Regions from separate parts of the Homo sapiens genome. Here regions 2, 3 and 4 are each linked to region 1. The links are contacts of gene promoters, found by promoter capture Hi-C in blood cells and fetal thymus (Javierre and others, 2016). All regions are on one chromosome and are shown on one strand. Each heading gives the region's core, a stretch centred on a gene start or on the middle of the fragment in contact. The rest is flanking DNA. Distances are from core to core; before and after follow the strand shown. Region 1 holds the start of PABPC4 (poly(A) binding protein cytoplasmic 4). Region 2 holds the start of MYCBP (MYC binding protein). Region 3 overlaps RRAGC (Ras related GTP binding C). Region 4 overlaps AKIRIN1 (akirin 1).

What was found. Contacts are between HindIII fragments. The CHiCAGO score rates a contact against its expected background, and 5 or more counts as called.
Region 2: a contact is called between a fragment that was not itself captured here and the fragment with the promoter of PABPC4 in region 1, in 1 of 17 cell types (fetal thymus). The highest score is 7.9, in fetal thymus.
Region 3: a contact is called between a fragment that was not itself captured here and the fragment with the promoter of PABPC4 in region 1, in 1 of 17 cell types (fetal thymus). The highest score is 5.4, in fetal thymus.
Region 4: a contact is called between a fragment that was not itself captured here and the fragment with the promoter of PABPC4 in region 1, in 1 of 17 cell types (fetal thymus). The highest score is 5.2, in fetal thymus.

Annotation. Positions count from the first base shown.
Region 1 is chr1:39,574,860-39,578,369 of GRCh38, forward strand. It overlaps PABPC4 (poly(A) binding protein cytoplasmic 4), which reads right to left and starts at 1,931. Exons shown (of 16, transcript NM_001135653.2): 1 at 900-1,931. The coding sequence starts at 1,092. RefSeq lists enhancers at 616-735, 756-805, 1,306-1,375 and a silencer at 1,876-2,185. The HindIII fragment of the contact is 4,726 bases long and covers 1-2,777 here.
Region 2 is chr1:38,870,484-38,873,913 of GRCh38, forward strand. MYCBP (MYC binding protein) reads right to left here and starts at 2,865. Exons shown (of 5, transcript NM_012333.5): 1 at 2,808-2,865; 2 at 2,535-2,607. The coding sequence starts at 2,822. The region is part of intron 1 of RRAGC-DT (RRAGC divergent transcript); the gene reads left to right. The region is part of intron 1 of GJA9-MYCBP (GJA9-MYCBP readthrough); the gene reads right to left. RefSeq lists an enhancer at 1,899-2,421. The HindIII fragment of the contact is 586 bases long and covers 1,338-1,923 here.
Region 3 is chr1:38,853,519-38,856,897 of GRCh38, forward strand. RRAGC (Ras related GTP binding C) reads right to left here. Exons shown (of 7, transcript NM_022157.4): 2 at 3,361-3,379; 3 at 2,190-2,389. Among named protein-coding and RNA genes, the nearest start is that of RRAGC, 4.6 kb to the right of the region's middle. The HindIII fragment of the contact is 1,921 bases long and covers 859-2,779 here.
Region 4 is chr1:38,993,473-38,996,746 of GRCh38, forward strand. The region is part of intron 1 of AKIRIN1 (akirin 1); the gene reads left to right. Among named protein-coding and RNA genes, the nearest start is that of AKIRIN1, 3.8 kb to the left of the region's middle. The HindIII fragment of the contact is 5,767 bases long and covers 1-3,274 here.

The DNA.
Region 1 (3,510 bases), core at 681-3,180:
CGCCTGCAGCATACCTCTCTCCATGCTCCACGCTAAGGCCACAATCTGAGGTGGCAGAGCACTGTGCTGGGAGTCCTAACTTGGCTTCCAACTTTTTGCATTCGTTCTCCTTCTCAGGAGTCCCATTTTCTTCAGATTAGATGAAATAAAAGGGCTCTGACTAGTGCAAAGCACTGTTACAGCTGAGGTGACAAATGACACCAGATTTTCAAGTGACGCTTCCCTAAACTACCTCCACGACACTCTACAGCACAGAGCCTGGATACCATTTGTCCAGAGTAAAGCACTTCTCCACTCCAGTGGCAAACACACAGACCAAGGAGGTGGCCTGGCACACGCAGCTTTTGTGGCACTAACCTAAGTCTCTGCGAAAGTTTAACGCACAGAAACCTTCCCCCTGCTTCCTGCCTGCCCTGACTGATCCTTTATCAGCACAACATCAGGTAGTCAAGGTTAGTAAAGGTGGCGGAGCGGGCAGGAGCTTTACAATGTAAAACTTTCGCGGGGAATTGTGTTTCAAACGTCCCGCCTTTTTGGCCAGCCTGTGAGGGGCACAAGCAAGGATCTCTAACAGCCCAGCCCCACTGACAAGGACCACACGCAGTGGAATGCCAGTGGCTTCACTCTAATCCTGTTTTACAGTCTCCTTGGTTTCCAACCCCACTACCAGCAACACTAATAAGTAGCCCAAGGTCACCCAGTTAGCAAGTGGTAGAAACAAGATTGAAACTCGAGTCATCTGATGCCAGGTCCGCGTTCTCAATCTCCGCACCCTGCTCCCAGCTTCGGTGGCAACATGCTGTCGTGATGCCGCCCTCCTCGGCAGGAGGGCCCTGCCAGAAGACGACTCCCGGGGTCCTCCGGGCTCCCACGCACGTGTGGGCACAGCTTCTACTCACCGTCGGCCGGCTGCTGGAAGTTGACGTAGGCATAGCCCAGGGAGCGGCGGGTGATCATATCGCGGCAGACCCGGATGGACAGCACAGGCCCCGCGGGGCTGAACTTTTCGTACAGCATGGCCTCGGTGACGTCCGAATGCAGGTCGCCCACGTACAGGGAGGCCATGGGGTAGCTGCTGGCCGCAGCGTTCATCTCCCCGCCCCCCACCACCCCGAGCCCCGCCAGGAGGACTTCTTATCGGGCCCGCCGCAGGACAAAGGGGCGCCTTCGGAGCCCGGGCCCGCGCCGCGGCTCACAGGTGGCACCGGCGCGGCGAGGACGAGCTGGAGTCGGCGGGCTTGGAGACGGGACGGAAACGGGAGGCGGGGGCCGGCTCCCACGGCCGCAGCACCGCAGACAAAAGGCTCTCCGCACAATACGGCCCTCCCCGCGACTTTGCACTTCTCCGCGGTCCTGGTGCGAAGCTCCAAATTTCAAAAAATCAAAGTAGGAAAAAAATTAAACGGGGAATCCCCTTCCGAAGGGTAAAAATCCTTTAAGAGGCGACCGGACGCTGCCCACGGCGGCCTCGGGGACACGCGTTTCTCTATAAATATAGGCCTCGGGCTCCGGCGGTTTAAGATTACAACCGCCGGGGCAGAGGGAAACCAAATCTTTGTGGGCGCCGACTCGGCGAGCCCCGGGCGGGCGGCGAAGGGCAGCACGGACACGTGGTGCGCCGGGGCAGGCGCGGGGCGCGGGGCTCGGGGCCCGAGCGGGGGGAGGGCACGGCGGGCCGGGCGGGCGGCTCACCCCCGGACCGACGGACGGAGACCGACGGACGCCAAGCGCTGCGGCGGCGGGCGCGGGGCAGGCCGGAAGCGTACGAAAGTGACTTCCCCGCGGGTTCTCCGAGGATTCGTTTTTTCTTTTCCTTTTTTTTTTTCAGGATTTTGAAGCGTTTTCAGATTTTTTTTATCTTTTTCTCTTTTTTTCCTCAGGCTGCGAAGCCCGAAAGCGGCGGAGGCGGCAGCGACCCGGGGCGGAGAGAGGCGGCCGAGGGAGCCACCGCTCCATTTATACCCGCCCGCCCCGGGCGCTGCTGGTCGAAGGGCGCCTCGCGACCTGGGCGCAGTCGTGCCCGCCCACTCGGCCCGGGGGCCCGAGGCGGGGCGGCCACGCGAGAGCGACCCGGCGCGGCCGCGCGGCGCTACAGCGACCCCTGGCGCCGGGAGGACCGCCCAGCTCGCGGCTGCGGGAGACCCCAGGGCCCCTTTCTATAACAAATAAATCTTAACACCCTCCCACCCATCACCCGGGAATGGAACCTAGGAGCCATTTAACCTGCACACACGCATGAGGTTTAAAATTAAATGGTATGGGGCTGGGTGCAGTGGCTCACGCCTGTAATCCCAGCACTTTGGGAGGCCGAGGCGGATGGATCATGGAGGTCAGGAGATCGAGACCATCCTGGCTAACGCGGTGAAACCCCGTCTCTACTAAAAATACAAAACATTAGCCGGGCGTGGTGGCATGCGCCTGTAGTCCTAGCTACTCGGGAGGCTGAGCAGGAGAATAGCTTGAACCCGGGAGGCGGAGGTCGCGGTGAGCCAAGATCGTGCCACTGCACTCCATCCAGCCTGGGCAACAGAGTGAGACTCCCTCTCAAAAAAAAAAAAATTAAATGGTATGCCAAATTGTGAAATGAAGGTGACATAAAATAAGTTAAAATAAAATAATAGGTGGTCCAATAGGTAAATGTCTGGGTCCAAATACAATAAAGATTTGAGAAGTTTTCAGGATACCGTTGACCTAGAGGTAGAATCGTCAGGAACTAGAAATGCAAGCAGTATCCATGGGTGATGGGATTTTCTGAAAAGATGAGCACATTTTGGTAAAGCTTCAATGAAACCAAACACAAGCATCCCCTCTATTGACATGCTGGTGGCATTCCCGGACATTTAGTTTGTGTTTAAGGGCACAGAAATACTTTCTGTTCCTATGTTTAAAGTTTCTTCTAGGCTTGGATAATTATAAAAAGACTTTTCATCTGCATGAGAGTCTGGCAGGTCATTTGAAAGTCGTATCACAGGCCAGGCGTGGTGGCTCACGCCTGTAATCCCAGCACTTTGGGAGGCCGAGGCGGGCGGATCACTGAGGTCGAGAGTTCGAGACCAGCATGACCAACATGAAGAAACCCCCGTCTCTCCTAAAAATACAAAAAGTAGCCAGACATGGGGGTGCATGCCTGTAATCCCAGCTACTCAGGCGGCTAAAGCAGAAGAATCGCTTGAACCCGGCAGGCAGAGGTTGTGGTGAGCTGAGATCATGCCATTGCACTCTAGCCTGGGCAACAAGAGCGAAACTCCGTCTCAAAAAAAAAAAAGTCATATCACTTTATAGGACTATGTTATATGGGACTGTCCACACGCATTACAAGATATATAGCATCCCTTCTTCCATAAGTGCCAGGAACCACCTTTGCCATCACTGTGAAAACCAAAAACAGAAATTGCCAAAAGACACAGACATCCCCCTTCAAAAGCACTGATTTAAGTAAATGACTAAAGAAATATGTGTATTTATATATTAATTAATTCAAATAAATGGTTAATCTGAGCCTACTCTATG
Region 2 (3,430 bases), core at 381-2,880, 700 kb before region 1:
AAAAAAATAAAAAGTAAAAACAAATAGAGGCCGGGCGCGGTGGCTCACGCCTGTAATCCCAGCACTTTGGGAGGCCGAGGCGGGTGGATCATGAGGTCAGGAGATCGAGACCATCCTGGCTAACAAGGTGAAACCCCGTCTCTACTAAAAATACAAAAAATTAGCCGGGCGCGGTGGCGGGCGCCTGTAGTCCCAGCTACTCGGGAGGCTGAGGCAGGAGAATGGCGTGAACCCGGGAAGCGGAGCTTGCAGTGAGCCGAGATTGCGCCACTGCAGTCCGCAGTCCGGCCTGGGCGACAGAGCGAGACTCCGTCTCAAAAAAAAAAAAAAAAAAAAAAAAAAAAACAAATAGAATTGTGTAAAGCACCTATGTTTGGAGCTGAAAATCAAATTTTTAATAAATCACATCAATACTGTGTTGGCTGATGTTATTTAGGAGCCTGGAAATCTAAGGAGATTGAGAGGTTAAATTCTAGTGGAGGGCGGTGGCTCACACCTGTAATCCCAGCACTCTGCGGGGCTGAGGTGAGCGGATCACCTGAGGTAAGGAGTTCAAGACCAGCCTGGCCCATGTGGTGAAACCGCCTCTCTACTAAAAATACAAAAAATTAGCTAAGCATGGTGGCACATGCCTGTAATCCCAGCTACTTGGAAGGCTGAGGCAACACAATCGCTTGAACCCGGAGGTGGAGGTTGCAGTGAGCCGAGATCATGCCGCTGCACTCCAGCCTGGGCAACATCTTCTGTGTAGTCAGTTACCGCCTACAACTGTCATTTTTCTGCCTTTTACCATTCAGTCTTTCACTTGCTCCATCCAACCACTCTGGCCTCCTTAGACTTCCTGAAACTCTGTTTCTTTCAGGTTTCTGGTCAAAAATTACTTCTTAAGAAAGGCCTTCCCCCCATCACCCTATATAAAATGACACACACATCCCACCTGTCACTTTTTTTTTTTTTTTTTTTTGGAGACAGAGTGTCACTGTTGCCCAGTGGCACAATCACAACTCACTGCAGCCTTGACCTCCTGGGCTCAGGTGATTCTCTCACCTCAGCCTCCACAGTAGCTAGATTACAGGCACACACCATGCCCAGCAATTTTTTTTTTTTTTTAAGAGATGGGAGTTTTGCCATGTTGCCCAGGCTGGTCTTGAGCTCCTGGCCTCTAGCAGTCCACCCACCTCAGCCTCCCAAAGTGCTGAGATTACAGGCATGAGCCACGTGCCTGGCCTCACCTGTTACTCTTTATCCCTAACTTTGCTGTATTTTTATCTGTACCACTTACCACTAGCTGACACTACATATTTATTTATGTATTTCTCTCCCTCAACTAGGATATAAGCTTATGAGAGCCGAGACTTTTATCCTCCCCTGCTTATCTCCAGTGTGCAGAACAGACACCTGAGTAAAATTATTAAATGAAAGAAATGAACGTAAGGAGTTTTTAGACGGAATGACATTCAAAGCATCTGTGACACTTTCAGAGACAACATAGCACAGTACTTTCACAGAGTAGTCCCTTAAGACTTGCTGAAGTTTATTTGCAAAGAGGTAAACTATTATCTGAACCCCAAATAGGTAGCAATTCAAAATTACTAGCCTTCTTTCTTCTAAGACCCAGGAGTTATGCTCCTAGAATTTTCCTCTAAACTTTGCTTCTGTCCAAAGGGCAGTTACCAATTTATTTCCCACTTCCCAAACTTCCTAGTTTCATATGACCCAAGTCCTCATCCCTGCGAACAATTCCATTCTACACCCTTGAATATCCCAGTGAGTTGAGTGACACATAGCAGGCATTCAAATTAGTGCTAAGCCAATAAAGTAAACTGTACCCTACCCCTTGAAATCCTCCTGTTTCCAACACTTTACTCATCTACTTAACTTAGATCTTGAAGCCACGAATGAAGAGATACAGCGTTAACAGTAAGCTTTCATTTTAAAAAGTGAAAACAATGTAACCACCTTGATATGCCCTCGAGCTCTTTAAGCTGTAATTCTACTTTATGAAATATACACAAAATAAGAATTGACACAGACAGACTAAGGAATGGGGGCTGAAAAGCCACAGCCAAATTCGCTATGAATCTCCTACTTTGGGGATTAGGCTCACTCAGCTACTTCATAGCCCACTTGGAAATTCGGTCATTTTTCCAGTTGCTCTTTGTTGGAGGGAAACTTTCTTAACAAGATTCTGAGGACTCCATAAAAACCGTAAGGTGGGAGGAATTGGGATCTGAAGGTCCTTGGCAAACATGTCCACTGCGGCTGCTGGAGGCAAAGCAACGGAAGTTGAAGAGACTTTGCAACAGCTGCAAGAGTTTCACTCCCGGTGCGGAGAAGGGTAGCGGAGCTAGGCTACCCCACCCGGGCGGCGTCCAGCAGCCAGGTCCCTGCTGAACCCCGAGGCCCACCTCGCTGGACCCCGGACGGGCCCCATCTGTTTCCCCTCCTTCCCCACGCTACGGCCCGCTGGGGAACGGGGCAGCGCCGGGGAGCACGACGAGGGCACGAGGTACCCTCTCCTAGCCCAGGCTCACCCTTGGTCAGCGTGTCCAGCACCCCCGACTTCTCCAAGTACCTCCGGAACTGCTCACGCTTCGAGTCGGCGGCCTGAAGAGACACCGGGGGTCAGTGGCCAGAGCCCGGGAGCCGAGCAGGAAGAAGGCGCTGGGAGTCCGGCAACCCCGCCTCCGCCTCACTACCTCGGGGCCCTCCCGCCCAAACCTGCGCGCGCGACCCCACTCCCACCCAGAGCCGACCAGCGGCTTGCTACCGCCCGCATGCCCCCAGCCACGCCGCGCCCCCCTCACTTTGTAATGGGCCATAGTGACAGCGGCAGCGGCGTAGCTGGCGCCGGAGACCGCGACTGGCGGGTTGGGAGCAGCACTGCTCATGCGCGGAAGGGGGCGCGCGCCTGCGCACTTGCAAACCACCGGCCGGGATCGCCGAGGTGTGGCCTGTTTTCATGGCGACCAGGACGCTCTGCATCCCCAGTAGCAGGCTGAGCCGAGGGAGGCTGCGTATGCCCGCCCCTCTGGCTGTCGGAGCCGCACCTCTTCCTCTTCCGGCCCCCGTAGCAATTAGGTTTCTTTGCAGGAGGTGAGATTTTGGTACCTCTGTCCTGGCGTCCGGAGGCAGGGCCCGGGAGCATTGAGACTATTGCGAGAGAAAGGACCGCCGCACGGTGGTAGCGAGCGCATCTTTTTCATCTGGGACCTCGGAAACTGTGGTGACCCATAGGTGCTGGGCTTCTTGGCTCTCGTCCTGAGAAAGTGCTCACAGTGCTTTGCAGTAGCCGAGGAGGGTGTTTAGAATCATATATTTTGGCTTCAGCTTTTATCTTTGGAGTCTCCTTGAGTCGTGGCTGACTTGATGTGGGCCTCTGGAGGATGAGCAGTAACGAGCTTGCAGTAGCTTTTGAGCCAGGCACTGT
Region 3 (3,379 bases), core at 569-3,068, 720 kb before region 1:
GTGGACCACTTGAGGTCGGGAGTTCGAGATCAGCCGGACCAACATGGAGAAACCCCATGTCTACTAAAAATACAAAAAATTAGCCAGGCGTGGTGGCGCATGCCTGTAATCCCAGCTACTTGGGAGGCTCAGGCAGGAGAATCGCTTGAACCAGGGAGGCAGAGGTTGCGGTGAGCCGAGATGGCATCATTGCACTCCAGCCTGGGCAACAAGAGTGAAACTCCATCTCAAAAAAAAAAAAAAAAATACTTTCAAGGAGCTGACCTAAGAACCTAATCTAGCAAGACAGGGGTCTAATCTAGATGTAAGAGCACTGGAACAGGTAAGGCCAAGATGACCCCATAGATACTAGGGAGAAAGGAATATTTTAGTGTTTCCTGTAGGCCAAAAGGTGAGCAAAGAAAGAATGTCCCGCACCTTTGAGGCTTGAGGTAAATGGGGACAGGGAGAACCTGCAAGTCACAGGGCATTTTAGTAAACTGAGTTTCTAGAAACTGGAAATGAAAAGGAGCTTCATCCATAGGACTGCTAGTACTAAATAAAAGTCTTTTTTTTTTTTTTTTTTTTGAGACGGAGTCTTGCTCTGTCACCCAGGCTGGAGTCCAGTGGCACGATCTTGGCTCACTGCAACCTCCACCTCCTGGGTTCAAGCGATTCTCCTCTCTCAGCCTCCCAAGTAGCTGGGACTACAGGCACACACCACAATGCCCGGCTAATTTTTTGTATTTTTAGTAGAGACGGAGTTTCGCCATGTTGGCCAGGCTGGTCTCAAACTCCTGGCCTCAAGTGATCTGCCTGCCTCGGCCTCCCAAAGTGCTGGGATTATAGGCATAAGCCACTATGCCTGGCCTAAATAAAAGCTTGATGCAACATTCTACTGAAGTTAACAAGGTCTAGGACCCTACATGGTACTGAGGAAAGGGATGGCATGTACCACTAGGGTGGGATGCCCTGGAAAGGAACACAGACACGGAGTAAAGAGAATCAGAAGGATCCCCATGGAGCACTGGGGAACACAGGACAAGAACGGCTCAAAATCCAGGTAAAAAACTATTAGCAGTGGATTCCCAAAAAAATAAGACTGAATTTTTGTGGAGAGCCACTTACATTTTCTCCTACAAACATTGCTGAATTTTTATTTTTTTAACATGAATTATTTTCAAATTATTTAGAAATTTAATCCAGGCAAACTAGAGGTCAATGAGACTTTTCGACATGGTTTCCTAGAAGAATAACTGAAAGATCTTGGAGCCTGAGACCCAGAGAATTTTAGGGGGAGGGATAGCAGTTAGCTTGAGCCCATAAAGAAGTCACAACAATAGAACGGGGACAGAGAAATAACTTGCTGTCTCTCTCCCCTTCTCCCTCTTTAAGCTACTTCTATCGTCAAGAGAATATTTTCTTGGGTACTTTTTAATACTCATTTCTACCTATATCACCAAATAAAATAAGATGTACAAAAATATTCCTCATACACTTTTAGAATGCAAATACACAAATCAATCCTATCAAGTAGGTATTATTTAATAATAATTTCTTAACAGTAGTTACAAACCAATAGTCCTCTAAATTTAATAGCAGCCTTATGCACATTTATAAGATAAACCCACCTAAGCCAAACTTTATAGAGTTTCATAAAAGTATAAAGTGTTTTAAAAGCTAAGATATATTACAGTCAGTCCAGGGGGGAGGTGGAAGGGAGCCAGCAGGAAAAATAAAAATGAAAAATAAAAAGAGTCAGTCCAGATTTGAAAGTGCACTCTCTGTATAAGGCTGTTCCTACTGAGAAAGATACTGTCTAAGACTCAAGCTAAAGACTTCCACAACAAATGTGACAGATTCACTTCACTGATGCAAGGCGGGGAAAAGTAATGAAACCAAGAGGAAGGAGTCCCAAAGCAGATTTATGCCATGAAGAAACAGCCTGACTCCAGTCTCTTGAGATGAATTTGGAAAAGCACCAGTGGAAACACTTCACATGACTTCAATCTCCAGGAAAACGCAAAAAGTGGGTAATTTCTCAATATCAGGCTCCCCAGACAGCCTGGAATTCAACAACAAGATCAAAAACATAAAAGATGTGGCAAAGGGCACACAGGTAGCAGAAAGCTATGGTGTTTGTAATGACAGAGATGGGAATACATTTACACCTTGTTCAGGGCTTTCATATCAAACACACATGTTGTTACCTAAGATGGAGTTTTTCTAGCCCAGCATCTGCAAGGTCATCATTGGCCCTTTGATGAATGTCCCTCTGTGTTTCTATTTTGTGATCATCAGACAGACCATCAACTTTGTGAATAAAAACCTCAAAATTCATGTCTGGGTTAACTTTGTAGGCTTTAGAAACAGTAATGTGAAGTCTTGTTAAAGCCTCCATGTAGTCATCCTGTAAGTCAGAACAAAATATTTTTTAAAATAAATCTTACAAAAGCCAAGTAATGAGTTAAAGCCTCAAACCACCTCTTTCCCCAACCACAGAAAAATACTATCCTAATTATCATCAATATTCAAACATTCAAATATACTATACTACTAAATAACTCTTCAATTGTCTCAAGATAAAAAAATTCAATTACCAAGTTAATGCTTGTAATTTTTAATATTAATTTAAGAAAGAAAAAAATGATATGAACATTTTTTCCCAACATAATTTTTTTAAGTAATCCCAGCTCTGCCATTTATTCAGTGTGTCACTTTAAGCAAGCTGCTTAAACTCTGATCTCAGTTTTCTCATCTGTAAGATCAGAATTACAATACCTACCTAACAATATTGTGAAGCTTAAATTAATTAGGTCCTGTACGTGAAGGCACCCTCTGTAGAGCCTATCACTCAGAAAGCATTCTTAACTAATGCTTAAGCTTATAAAAAGTAAGCTTCTTAAAGGATAGGGACTTGCCCCATTCATCTCACTGACTGCCACATGCTAGGCCCTCCATAAATGTTTGTTGAGCTAAACTCAATTTTGACAATTAAGTAAACTATTCACTCTAATATCTACTGACTCAGTTCTCATATTCCTCTTTATGTTATGGGATGGGATATTTTCAGGGAATAACATCACTATTATTATAAAATTATTATAAAATATGGCAACCAATAAAAGTGGAAAGCCAATGTTAGCTGCTCATCAACTAGGACTCAAGGATGTAAACCATATCTCCTAATCATCTGATATTCTGTACCTGCACAATGCATGTCTGCTCCCAAAGCACTCTGCAACTGCATCTCTTACACTGTTAGGGAATCTACTGCCAAAGAGATAAGCTGCAACCACATGACAAAGAAGATAAACAACTTTCCTTTGTTTCTACATCTTTTTCCCACCAGGAAAGAGGAGTAAACACATTACTGACTACCTGTGCGTCAATGACGTAT
Region 4 (3,274 bases), core at 647-3,146, 580 kb before region 1:
TATTTTTGTTTTGGGGGCAGTGGTGGCATGCACTTGTAATCCCAGCTACTAGGGAAGCTGAGGCAGGAGAATCGTTTGAAGCCGGGAGGCAGAGGTTGCAGTGAGCGGAGATCACACCATTGCGCTCCAGCCTGGGCCACAAGAGCGAAACTCCATCTCAAAAAAAAAAAAAAAAGAGAATGTGGGCAAGGCGTGGTGGCTCACACCTGCAATCCCAGCACTTTGGGAGGCTGAGGCAGGAGGATTGCTTGAGCCCAGGAATTCGAGACAAGTCTGTGCAACATAATGAGACCTTGTTTCCACAAAAGAATTCTAAGGCCGGGCGCAGTGGCTCACTCCTATAATCCCAGCACTTTGGGAGGCGGAGGCGGGCGGATCACCTGAGGTCGGGAGTTCAAGACCACCCTGACACACATGGAGAAATCCTGTCTCTACTAAAAATACAAAATTAGTGGGGCATGGTGGTGCATGCCTGTAATCCCAGCTACTCGGGAGGTTGAGGCAGGAGAATCGCTTGAACCTGGGAGGCGGAGATTGCGGTAAGCCGAGATCCGGCCATTGCACTCCATCCTGGGTGACAAGAGTGAAACTCCATCTCAAAAAAAAAAAAAAGCTAAAAAATTAGCTGGGCAATTTTTCTGAAATCCGAAATGCTGCAAAGTCTGAACTGATCCAAAAATTGAGTGTCAATATGACACTCAAAGGAAATACTTATTCACTGGAGTTTTTCTCATTTGGGGTAAGGGATGTTCAATTGGTAAGTATAATGCAACTATTCCACAATCCAAAACTTCTGTCTCAAGCATTTTGGATGAGGGATGCTCAATCTGTATGGTACTTTTTGTGGAAAGGTCCTGTAAAACTAAGCCTTTTATTGCTTAAATCTTTATTGAGTGCTAGGTGAATTCCAGACATGGAAGAAGGGGGTTGCTGACCGCAGGAAATATTTGTAAACGTAATGTGCAAAGCAATTAACTGATTATGACTTGAGAGTCTGAGAATAACTTCTGAATTAAGGTAGCATTTTAGCTGAGTCTTTTTTTGTTGTTTTTTGAGACAGAGTCACTCTGTTGCCCAGGCTGGAGTGTAGTGGCACGATCTTGGCTCACTGCAACCGCCGTCTCCCATGTTCAAGCGATTCTCCTGCCTCAGCCTCCCCAGTGGCTGGGATTACAGGCATGTGTCACTACGCTCGGCTAATTTTTTTTTTTTTTTTTTTTTTTTTTTTTTTTTTGAGATGACGTTTCGCTCTTGTTGCCCAGGCTGGAGTGCAGTAGCATGATCTCGGCTCACTGCAACTTCCACCTCCCAGACTCAAGCGATTCTCCTGCCTTAGCCTCCCAGAACGCTGGGATTACAGGCGCATGCCACCATTCTCAGCTAATTTTTGTATTTTTAGTGGAGATAGGGTTTCATCATACTGGTCAGGCTGGTCTCAAACACCTGACCTCAGGTGATCCGCCTGCCTCAGACTCCCAAAGTGCTGGGATTACAGGCATGAGCCACCACACCCGGCCTACTAATTTTTGTATTTTTTTTGTCAAGACAGGGTTTCACTGTATTGGCCAAGCTGGTCTCAAACTCCTGACCTCAGGTGATCTGCCCGCCTCGGCCTCCCAAAGTGCTGGGATTGCATGAGCCACTGCGCCTGGCTAGCTGAGTCTTGATCAAGTTTGAGCAATAGTCCCATTTCGAGCACAGGGAAACCATGAGAGCAAAGTCCAAAAAACCCACAATTTAAGGAGAGAATAATGTAATGTAACTAAATTATAGTGGAATCCAGATGGAACCAGGAAAATAAATTGAGGCCACATCTTGGAAAGTATTGACTGCCATGTTCAAGAGTTTGAATTTTGGTTTGTAGCAGTAGGAACACTGTAGAGTTTGGAGGATGGGCTTAGACCGGAAAAAATCTGGCAGCACAACCTCAAGTAATGGAGGGAAGGATTAAAATTATCCACTGTTAAAAAGAAATTTGAGTTTTTCTTTTTAAAAAAATTTTGTGCTTTATATGGCCTTCTACAGAAGAAAATCATGTCTAACTTTCTTATTTTTCTCCCATGGATACCGTGTTTAGATTCTTGGACTTCTTAGTCCTACCACCCTCAAAATTGTATCTTTCCATTTGTTAACATTGCCATACAGGAGGCAGAGGTTTATCAAAGACCTTCTGTTCTCTTAAGCGTTGTCCTCATACTTGTCCTTTCTTGTTTCAAGTATTTGCAGTTCTTATCCTTGTATTGGCTCTGGCTTGAGGAATAAGACATCTTAAAATACAGGGGGCTAGCGGTGGCTCACGCCTGTATTCCCAGCACTTTGGGAGGCCGAGGCGGGCGGATCAGCTGAGGTCAGGAGTTTGAGACCAGCCTGGCCAACATTGTGAAACTCTGTCTCTACTAAAAATACAAAAAATTAGGTGGGTGTGGTGGCGGGCTCCTGAAATCCAAACTACTCTGGAGGCTGAGGCAGGAGAATTGCTTGAACCTGGGAGGTAGAGGTTGCAGTGAACTGAGATTGTGCTATTGCACTACAGCCTGGGCGACAGGGTAAGACTCTCTTAAAAAATAAAGTGAGGTGAAAACTTAATAAATTCAGGAATCTAAAATACAAACTTCATAGCACTGTTTTGTTTTGTTTTTTGAGACAGTGTCTTACTCTGTTGCCCAGGCTGGAGTCCAATGGGGTGATCTCGGCTCACTGCAATCTCCACCTCCTGGGTTGAAGCAATTCTCCTGCCTCAGCCTCCCAAGTAGCTGGGATTACAGGTGCGCACCACCATGCCCAGCTAATTTTTGTATTTTTAGTAGAGATGGTTTCGCCATGTTGGTCAGGCTGGTCTCGAACCTCAGGTGATCCACCTGCCTAGGCCTCCCAAAGTGCTGGGATTACAGGCGTGAGCCACCATGTACAGGCTTTTTTTCTTTTTTTTAATACTGGGTCTCGTTATGTTGCCCAGGCTGGCCTCAAGTGATCCTCCCACCTTGGCCTTCCAAAGTGCTGGATTACAGGCATGAGCCACAGTGCCTGGCCCATAGCACTCTTGTTTTTTTGTTTTGTTTTTCTATTTTTTTTTTGAGGCAGAGTCTTGATTGTGTTTCCCAGGCTGGAGTGCAGTGGCACAATCTCGGCTCAGTGCAACCTCCACCTCCCCGGTTCAAGAGATTCTCCTGCCTCAGCTTCCTGAGTAGCTGGGACTACAGGCACGTGCCACCACGCCTGGCTAAATTTTTTTATTTTTAGTAGAGACGGTGTTTCACCATGTTAGCCAAGATAG